Regions from separate parts of the Homo sapiens genome. Here all the other regions are linked to region 3. The links are contacts of gene promoters, found by promoter capture Hi-C in blood cells and fetal thymus (Javierre and others, 2016). All regions are on one chromosome and are shown on one strand. Each heading gives the region's core, a stretch centred on a gene start or on the middle of the fragment in contact. The rest is flanking DNA. Distances are from core to core; before and after follow the strand shown.

Evidence for each region. The method cuts DNA at HindIII sites, captures the fragments that hold promoters and counts their contacts. A CHiCAGO score of 5 or more calls a contact.
Region 1: a fragment that was not itself captured here is called in contact with the fragment with the promoter of TRNAU1AP in region 3 in 2 of 17 cell types (fetal thymus and endothelial precursors); the score reaches 5.4 in fetal thymus.
Region 2: a fragment that was not itself captured here is called in contact with the fragment with the promoter of TRNAU1AP in region 3 in 1 of 17 cell types (total CD4 T cells); the score reaches 5.4 in total CD4 T cells.

Annotation. Positions count from the first base shown.
Region 1 is chr1:28,266,075-28,269,079 of GRCh38, reverse strand. The region is part of intron 1 of SESN2 (sestrin 2); the gene reads right to left. Among named protein-coding and RNA genes, the nearest start is that of SESN2, 8.1 kb to the right of the region's middle. The HindIII fragment of the contact is 2,975 bases long and covers 1-2,803 here.
Region 2 is chr1:29,048,895-29,051,961 of GRCh38, reverse strand. The region is part of intron 11 of EPB41 (erythrocyte membrane protein band 4.1); the gene reads right to left. Among named protein-coding and RNA genes, the nearest start is that of TMEM200B, 73 kb to the left of the region's middle. The HindIII fragment of the contact is 7,587 bases long and covers 1-3,067 here.
Region 3 is chr1:28,551,458-28,554,505 of GRCh38, reverse strand. TRNAU1AP (tRNA selenocysteine 1 associated protein 1) reads right to left here and starts at 1,421. Exons shown (of 9, transcript NM_017846.5): 1 at 1,369-1,421; 2 at 769-866. The coding sequence starts at 1,395. RefSeq lists silencers at 115-409, 1,342-1,481 and enhancers at 1,632-1,691, 1,415-1,709. The HindIII fragment of the contact is 4,615 bases long and covers 1,036-3,048 here.

The sequences.
Region 1 (3,005 bases), core at 67-2,566, 290 kb after region 3:
TAAACCCACCTTTCTAGCATACTTTGGATGGTGGAGCCAGATGGGAGATATACACATGTTTGGAAGGGTAATCAAGAAAGAGGGCTCACTCCAGGCTGAGTTCTTCAGGAACTGGGTTGGGACCCAAGAATCCCAGCATTGCGGGATGGGAGGGTCCTGGAAAAGGAACTATATAGCCATCATGCTGCACATCTCCAGGAGGCCACCTTCTTAGTGGTCCCAGAGAACTTATACAAGAACACACCACAGTTTGCACCCTGAAGCCAGGTAACCAAGTACCCCAGATGCTTCAGAAGCAGCTTCAATTTCTCTCACATGTTCGTTCGTTCCTTCCTTCCTTCCTTTCTTCCTCCTCCTCCTCCTTCTTCCTTCCTTCCTTCCTTCTCCTTCCTTCTTTTGCTTCTTTTTTTTTTTGAGACGGAGTATCGCTCTTGTTGCCCAGGCTGGAGTGCAATGGTGCGATCTCAGCTCATTGCAACCTCTGCCTCCTGGGTTCAAGCGATTCTCCTGCCTCAGCCTCCCGAGTAGCTGGGATTACAGGCATGCACAACCACGCTCACCTAATTTTATATTTTTAGTAGAAACTGGGTTTCTCCATGTTGGCCAGGCTGGTCTCGAATCCCCAACCTCAGGTGATCCGCCCACCTCAGCCTCCCAAAGTGCTGGGATTACTGGAATGAGCCACCACGCCTGGCCTCTTCTTTAGTGGTGCAGTCATAGCTCACTATAGCCTCAAACTGCTGGGCTCAATGGATCCTCCTGCCTTGGCCTCCCAAAGCACTGGGATTACAGATGGGAGTCACCATGCCTGGCTGCTTATCTGTCCTCCCACCACCACCACCTCATTAACTACCACCCCCTCTTGTCTGGACCACTACTCACAACCTCGCCAGTTGTCCCCCGGCCTCCTTAGCCCTGGCCTCTCCTATCCATCCTCTACCCAGTAGCCACATTAACTTTCTGAATATAAATCCGATCAACTGGCTTAAAACCCTACCTCCCCCTCCCATGGGCTTCCAGATACAACTGGCCCAGTCCCAGTGGTCACTCCTTTTGCAAAGCTAAACCACAATAGTCTAGGAACCTTTTTCTGGCCCTCACCTATGACCCCAAAATTCCCAGGGCTTTTGCTTCTAAAAACACTGTCATCAAATTGTCTGTTTTGTTTCCCTGACACCAGATCACATTTAGTGGAGAGCAGCGCCAGGTCATTCATACTAGTCTGTGAATGAAGACAGAGAAAGCAGAAAGGCACGGAGGGAATCTGAGCAGGGTGTACAAGGCTGATGGGAGCAACTGTTTTGACCTGTTATATGCTGCAGCCTCTTTAGAAACCACTAATATCAGGTACTCACTACATCTGCTTCTCCTAGTCCTAGAGATGGGGTTCAGGAAGGATGCTCTACTTATTAATTTATTTTGTTAATCTGAGAGTGGAGGTGGCTCTCAGCACTGGTCTTGTTTACAGTTTACCCAAATCAGAGCCATGCTCTCACTGGACAGGGATAGGAGGCGCCCAGTTCTCCCCTTCCCATTAAGATCCAGACTTAGTACCAGCCCTCAGGTATCCGGGAACCAAAAACTATAATTGAACCTTCCTTCTCAGATGGCCAAAAGCCCACTGAGGAGGCAGAGCTCTGGGACTCCAGAAGACTACAAAGTCTCTGGAATAGGTACCAATTCTGCAACTAACTTGCTATGTGGCTCTGGGAAAGTTAAAGGCCTAAACTCTCTTTACCTACTAAACTGGTAGGTAAAGTAGCCCAGCTACCTTCAAAAAGGGAGTTGAGCTGACCGTGCAGGCCCCCTTCAGCCCACACTTCTGGGAACTTCCGGGCCAGGCTGGTCCAAGTTCAGCGTAGTAACCAACACAATCCCTGAGCACTCCCCTTTGGAGCTTCCCTCCCCCTCACCAAAGAAAAAGCCCAACAGCTCTGTATAGGAGATAAGGATTGCTGACTCCACAAACTGGGCCTCCACCTCAGGGGACCTGAGGACAGAATAGCAAGCCACAGCAGGGTAGGGTGGAGCAAAACTGGGGGAGGCAGAGACGGCCCATCAGGGGTGCTAGGGAAGGATAGGAATAGCCTTGGGAATCCCAACTCACTCCAAAATCTGACCCAGGAATTGTCAAAAGAAGGAGCTCTAAGTCATCGGTCTGGATCCATCAACACTTTCAGCAATAACAACAACAACAACAATATACAATGCAGTTAAAAGATAGGGGCCCTTGGCTGGCGCAGCAGCTCATCCCAGCACGTTGGGACACTGAGGCAAGAGGATCGCTTGAGGCCAGGAATTCGAGACCAGCCTGGGCAACACAGTGAGACCCCTGTCTCCACAAACAGTAAATTAGCTGGGCATGGTAGCACACAACCTGTAGTCCCAGCTACTCAGGAGGCTGAGGCAGGAGGACTGCCTGAGCCCAGGAGTTTGAGGTTACAGCAAGCTATGATCGCACCACGGCATTCCAGCCTGAGCAACAGGGCAAGACCCTGTCTCAAAAAAAAAAAAAAAAAAAAAGATGGGGCTCTTGACACAAATTGCATGAGCTCAAATGACAGCTCCACCACCTGCTATCCCTTAGCTTTATGAGCCTCAGTTTCTTTACCAAATAATGGGGATAGCAGTAACTACTTCCACTGGCCAGTGATGAGGATTTCATGAGATAACACTGTGTAGCTTACCTCAATACCTCCATAACAATAAGCACTTAATAAAAAGTCAGGTATCATTAACCTCCTTGCTGTATCAAACAAGGGCTTCTCAACCCAAGCGGTACATTAGAATCCTTTGAGAAGCTTTACAAAAATAACAATGCCAAGGTCCCACCTCCCGCAATTCTAATTTAGTTATCTGGGGTGGGGCCCCAGCATAACAGCCAGGGTGAGGACCATTGTTTACACCATTTATTGATCACTTTCTCAAGTATAAGGCACTATGCTAAGTGCTTTCTAGGTGGAAACAGAATTAATTTGTTCACTCAACAAATATTTTTGATGGCT
Region 2 (3,067 bases), core at 257-2,756, 500 kb before region 3:
TGATTTAGTATTTCTGATAACATATTGTTATCCTCTTTTGTACTGAGACTTTTTTTTTTTTTTTAAGATGGAGTCTTGCCCTGTCGCCTAGGCTAGAGTGCAATGGCATGATCTCGGCTCACTAGAATCTCCGCCTCTCAGGTTCAAGTGATTCTCCTGCCTCAGCCTCCCCAGTAGCTGGGACTACAGGCACATGCCACCATGCCTGGCTAATTTTTTGTATCTTTAGTAGAGATGGGGTTTCACCATGTTGGCCAGGCTGGTCTTGAACTCCTGACCTCAAGTGATCTGCCTGCCTTGGCCTCCCAAAGTCCTGGGATTACAGGCGTGAGCCACCGCTCCCAGCCAAGACTCTTATATTTTAATCAATTTGCATGGAAATCAATAATTTTTATTATAGACTTTCCTGCATTCTTAAACTGACTATAACTGAACATGATTCATCCTGAAATTTTTAGATTTGTAAACTGTAAGGATCAGATAAAGGAATTCCATGAATCTGAACAGATAAAAACTTTAAATTCCCAACTACTTCATACAACAATATTAAGAAAGAAATGCTTGGCCAGGCACGGTGGCTCACACCTGTAATCCCAGCACTTTGGGAGGCCGAGGTGGGCAGATCACCTGAGGTCGGGAGTTCGAGACCAGCCTGGTCAACAAGGTGAAACGTCGTCTCTACTAAAAATACAAAAATTAGCCAAGTGTGGTGGTGGGCGCCTGTAGTCATAGCTACTCGGGAGGCTGAGGCAGGAGAATCACTTGAACCCGAGAGGCAGAGGTTGCAGTGAGCTGAGATCGTGCCACTGCACTCCAGCCTGGGCAACAGAGCCAGACTGTCTCCAAAAAAAAAAAAAAAAAAAAAAAAAAAAACAGAAAAAGAAAAAGAAAGAAATGCTCATTACTCTGTCATAATTTCCAATGAAAGAACTAATTCCTTAGCGGATATATAGGAAAAACAGCAGAAATTCAAGAATCCCCTTTATCAGCCAGGCGTGGTGGCTCACGCCTATAATCCCAGCACTTTGGGAGGCCAAGGTGGGTGGATCACGAGGTCAGGAGATTGAGGCCATCCTGGCTAACACAGTGAAACCCATCTCTACTAAAAAATACAAAAAATTAGCTGGGCGTGGTGGCGGGCGTCTGTAGTCCCAGTTACTTGGGAGGCTGAGGCAGGTGAATGGCCTGAACCCAGGAGGTGGAGCTTGCAGTGAGCCGAGATCGTACCACTGCACTCTAGCCTGGGCAACAGAGCAAGACTCTGTCTCAAAAAAAAAAAGGATCTCCTTTATCTTTCCATGAAAAATCTGCGGCCTCTTGCACAGATTGCTACTACTGGGTTAGTAGTAATAACTCTGGATTAGCACAGAGCTACTACTAATGGGTGCTTTAAGCAGTCACTGCAAGAGTGGCAGATGGCAGACCAAACCTGACAACACAGGGGAATGTGACAAAATATTTTGCTCACAGTTGTGTTTAAGTATCATTATACATGTGTATTCACACCTCCTCTCAAAGAATTAATTCAACTATGCCTGGCATCATAGAAACTTAGCCCATGCTTTCACCATGTGTTATTTTGCCACTTGTCTTTGGTTTCAATCCAGTACTAATACTGCAGAGCCAAATGATTTATGTCTTCAGCATTCCTAGCCTTGGCAATCTGTACTGTATGTGGAAAAGAAGGTATTAGTGTGGAAACTGACAGAAACAGAGTTCACAGATTGGAAAAATAATAACATTACAATAAAAAGCTCTGGCTGTGAAAGGCTGCGTGGAACAGAGGCAAAAGCCAAATCACGAGTCTTAGGCCCACACTCAGTCACATATAGTAGTGTGCCTAAGGCGTGGAGCTTAATCTTACAAACTTTAGTTTAATCATCTGTAAAATATGGAAGATATTAACTCTATAATATCATGGTAGTGATCATGGCTTTTTTTAACAGCTTTTTTTGAGATACAATTCACATACCACACAGTTCACTCATTTAAAATATATAATTCAATGCTTTTTAGTATATTCACAGTGTTGGGGGTAAGGATTGCTTTTTAAGATGTGTGGGTCTTCAGTTTTATTAATTCAGCTGTTAATATTTACAAGATTTTGGTGCATATATAGACAATACATAACTTTAAAAATCCAGTATCTCCCATATCTGAGGGTCTACATAAAGAAAAATGCTGATGGTGACCCACTAACTTCAATACTATATTGCTCTTGGCTGACAACAGAAACTTAGATAGTTATATACTACAGCAGTAAAGAATAAAATTCAAACCATCAGACTGAGTAAAGGCAAACAACTTCTACTTCTAGCTGTTATTTACTAGCACAATTTCTGCTAGTATGCGGTAGGGTGGTTCTTTTATCAGAGGACCACATAAATCATTTGTGTCCTCTGATACAATGTTTGTTTTTCAAGACAAAAAACAAAAAAATCAGATGATGCTCAGGCCCACTCTAGTGAGATGAGCTATCCAAGAGTGAGGCTTGGGCATGTGTTTTGTTTTAAAGCTCCAAAGGTGATAAGGATGTACACCCCTGGCAAGAATCACTGTAACCACTGCTCACTGAATGGATGAACTACCTGGTTGTGTGGCCCTTTCTTTTGTGCTCCAGTTTCCTCATGAGTAAAACTGTAATTCCTAAATGTTTTCTCTTATTGACTAAGTTGCTAGTATTAAATAGGAATACATGGAAATGGTTTGAAAAGCAAAAAGTGCAAGAAAAATATAATCTTTGTCATCATTATTAGCTACGCTTGCAACTTACTACTCTATCATAAAACTGGGATCTGAACCAGTTTTGGTACTCCAGCTGGTGAAGCAGATGCTCTAAGCACCACACATAACAGAAGAGGAAGGGAATGCTCATTTTTATCATTAAAATAAGACCCCTTATAAAGCAATTCTTGTAAAAGTTTCCCTGATACACCATCTCTAGCTTACAGAGTTATATTAATCTTTTGAAAAGGGAGGGGTGACTCAACGGGAAAAAGTATCTTTTAAGGAGCACAGAGAAGTATCTAAGGAAAGGAGGGAAAAATAGTTACACAGACATATTTCC
Region 3 (3,048 bases), core at 172-2,671:
TCAGAAGTTTCTGAGGTTTTAAGGAGATAATGGATGTAAACTGCTTATTACTCAGCAGATCGTAATCTGACTATACTTACTGAGCATATGCTATATGCCATACACTGTCCTAATGATGAATGTGAATTAACTCATTTAATCCTCACCATAACTCTAGGAGGTAGGTGCTGTTATTTCCATTTTTATACTCAAAGTGAATGAGACAGAGCAGTTAAGTAACTTACCCAAGGTCATAGAGTAGAAATAGCTTTCAAACCCAGTCTCGCTTGAGTCCTGCGTTTTTTGTTTTTTTGTTTTTTTTTTTTTTGAGACATTGTTTTGCTCTTGTTGTCCAAGCTGAAGTACAGTGGCACGATCTCAGCTCACTGCAACCTTCGCCTCCCGGGTTCAAGTGATTCTCATGCCTCAGCCTCCGGAGTAGCTGGGGTTACAGGTGCCTGCCACCACACCCGGCTAATTTTTGTATTTTTAGTAGAGACGGGGTTTCACCATGTTGGCCAGGCTGGTCTCAAACTCCTGACCTCAGGTGATCCACCCACCTCAGCCTCCCAAAGTGCTGGGATTACAGGTGTGAGTCACAACGCCTGGCAAGTCCTACCCTTAAGCTACATGCCATCCTTCCACTCATTGGGACCTCAAAATGTTAGCTGTTATAATTTTACAGTGACTATTACTAGGGGTAGTGAGAAGCCATGACTACGATGTTTACATTCTCGTACATGACAGCTGCAACGAGATGTATTAAGAGAGACCTGAGATGAGACTTACCCAGTGAGGCGGTTTCGGATAATTTTGACGCTCATTACGGTCTCCCCCATGGTGGCAAAGGCTCTGGAGATGAAGTTCTCATCCATGTAGGGTTCCAGCTGCGTAAAAACAAGAGCACAGCGGCTCAGGCCGGCGGCCGGGCTTCCCACTCCGGGTTCCAGAGCCCCTCCCGTTCAGCCCAGGGCTGGCTACGCGCCGCTGGGGGAGCGAGGGGCGAGGTTCGCCTCCACTGAGCGGCCTGAAACCCCAGCTCTTTTGGTTCAAGCTTGCCCCGCTTTAGGGAGCCTCCCCTTGGACCTAGAAACCCCACTCCTCCGGTCCCAGAACAGCGCGCCTCAGTCCTTGGATTGCTCCCATTCTATGTCCCCAAAGCACCACCTTTCCCTCCCACGAACCCAGGTGGGGCCCCAGGACCCCTAGCCTCACGGACTCAGCCTCTTCACTTAGATGCTGGAACCCGCTTCTGTGTCACCAAAAAGAACCCCCGTCACACGTCTCCCCTTTCTGGGATCCCAAGTCCCCTCCCACTCAGATCCTTCCTCTCTCGCGAAACCGAGATGCTTCCTTGTCTTCAGACCCCGGACGGCTGCCCTCACTCACGTCGCCCATCCACAGGCTGGCCGCCATACCCGCGCACCGGGGTGGGGCTTTGCGGGCGGGGCTCTGCGGGCGGGGCTCGAAGGCCCGCGCGGGCGCCAATCCTGGCTGCGGAGACCGCTACAGAGCATGCGCCTCCGACGGCTTCTGCGCAGGCTCCCGAGCGCAGCGGCCCGGGTCGGGCAGTGTGTTCAGCTCCGGGTTTTTCCTGCAACCCACTGGGCGCTAGGCTTCCGGATCGCGGTGGGCGGAGTTCAGGCTGGAATGGGGCGGGCCAGATACCACCTGGCCCAGGCGGCTGGGTTACTTGGGTTTATTTCTGACTTTATATATTTAGAAAACAAACAAAACTACACACACACACTCGTCTGACTTTATATAGAAAACAAAACCACACACACACAGACACATATAATTACAACATTAATATATGCTCGTTAGGGCTGGGCACGGTGGCTCACGCCTGTAATCCCAGCACTTGAGGAGGCCGAGGCGGGCGGATCACGAGGTGAAGAAATCGAGACCATCCTCGCCAACAGGGGGAAACCCCCTCTCTACTAAAAGTACGAAAATTAGCGGGCGTGGTGGCGAGCGCTGGTAGTCGCAGCTACTCGGGAGACTGAGGCAGGAGAATCGCTTAAACCCAGGGGGCAGAAGTTGCAGTGAGCCGAGATAGCGCCATTGCACCGCAGCCTGGTGACAGAGCAAGACTCCATATATATACATACACACACACACACACATACACATATATATACACATATATACACATATACACACATAATACACATATACACATATATACACACATACACATATATATACATATATACACACACACACACACATATATATGTATGCTCGTTACTTGGGTTAATTTCTGACTTTACATATTTAGAAAACAAACAAGGCCGGGCGCGGTGGCTCACGCCTGTAATCCCAACACTTTGGGAGGCCGAGGTGGGCAGATCACGAGGTCAGGAGATCGAGACCATCCTGGCCAACATGGTGAAACCCCGTCTCTACTAAAAATACAGAAATTAGCCGGGTATGATGGTGTGCACTTGTAGTCCCAGCTACTCAGGTGGCTGAGACAGGATAATCACTTGAACCCGGGAGGCAGAGGCTGCAGTGAGCCGAGATCGCGCCACTGCACTCCAGCCTGGGCGACAGAGTGAGACTCTGTCTCAAATTAAAAAAAAAACAAAAAACAAAAAACATACACACGTACACACACACACAAACACACACATAATTACAACATTAATATATGCTCGTTGTAAAAAACTGCAGATACAAGTGCATCCAAAAAAGTGAAAATATCCCTCCGGACAACCCGGTTCCACTACCTCCCTATTGTTACCAGGGGTTCTTAGGCTCTCAATCCAACAGAAATTAACATGAGGCCAAAAAAGTTTTCCCAGACAAGTCTTCATTGGAGCTTATGCCTGGGTATAAGGGAGGCAGCACAAGAGAGCGAGAATTCCCTGACTCTCCGAAAAGAGCTGGTTGAGATGTTTTATTGGGCAAAGCACGGAAAGTGATATCAAGTGTAGGGTTTACAGGCTGGGCAGGACAAAGCTCATGAGGGTGGGGTATGAAGGTCAGCATATCCTGTTGTAATGATTATCTTTTTTTTTTTTTTTGAGACGGAGTCTTCCTTTGTCGCCCAGGCTGGAGTGC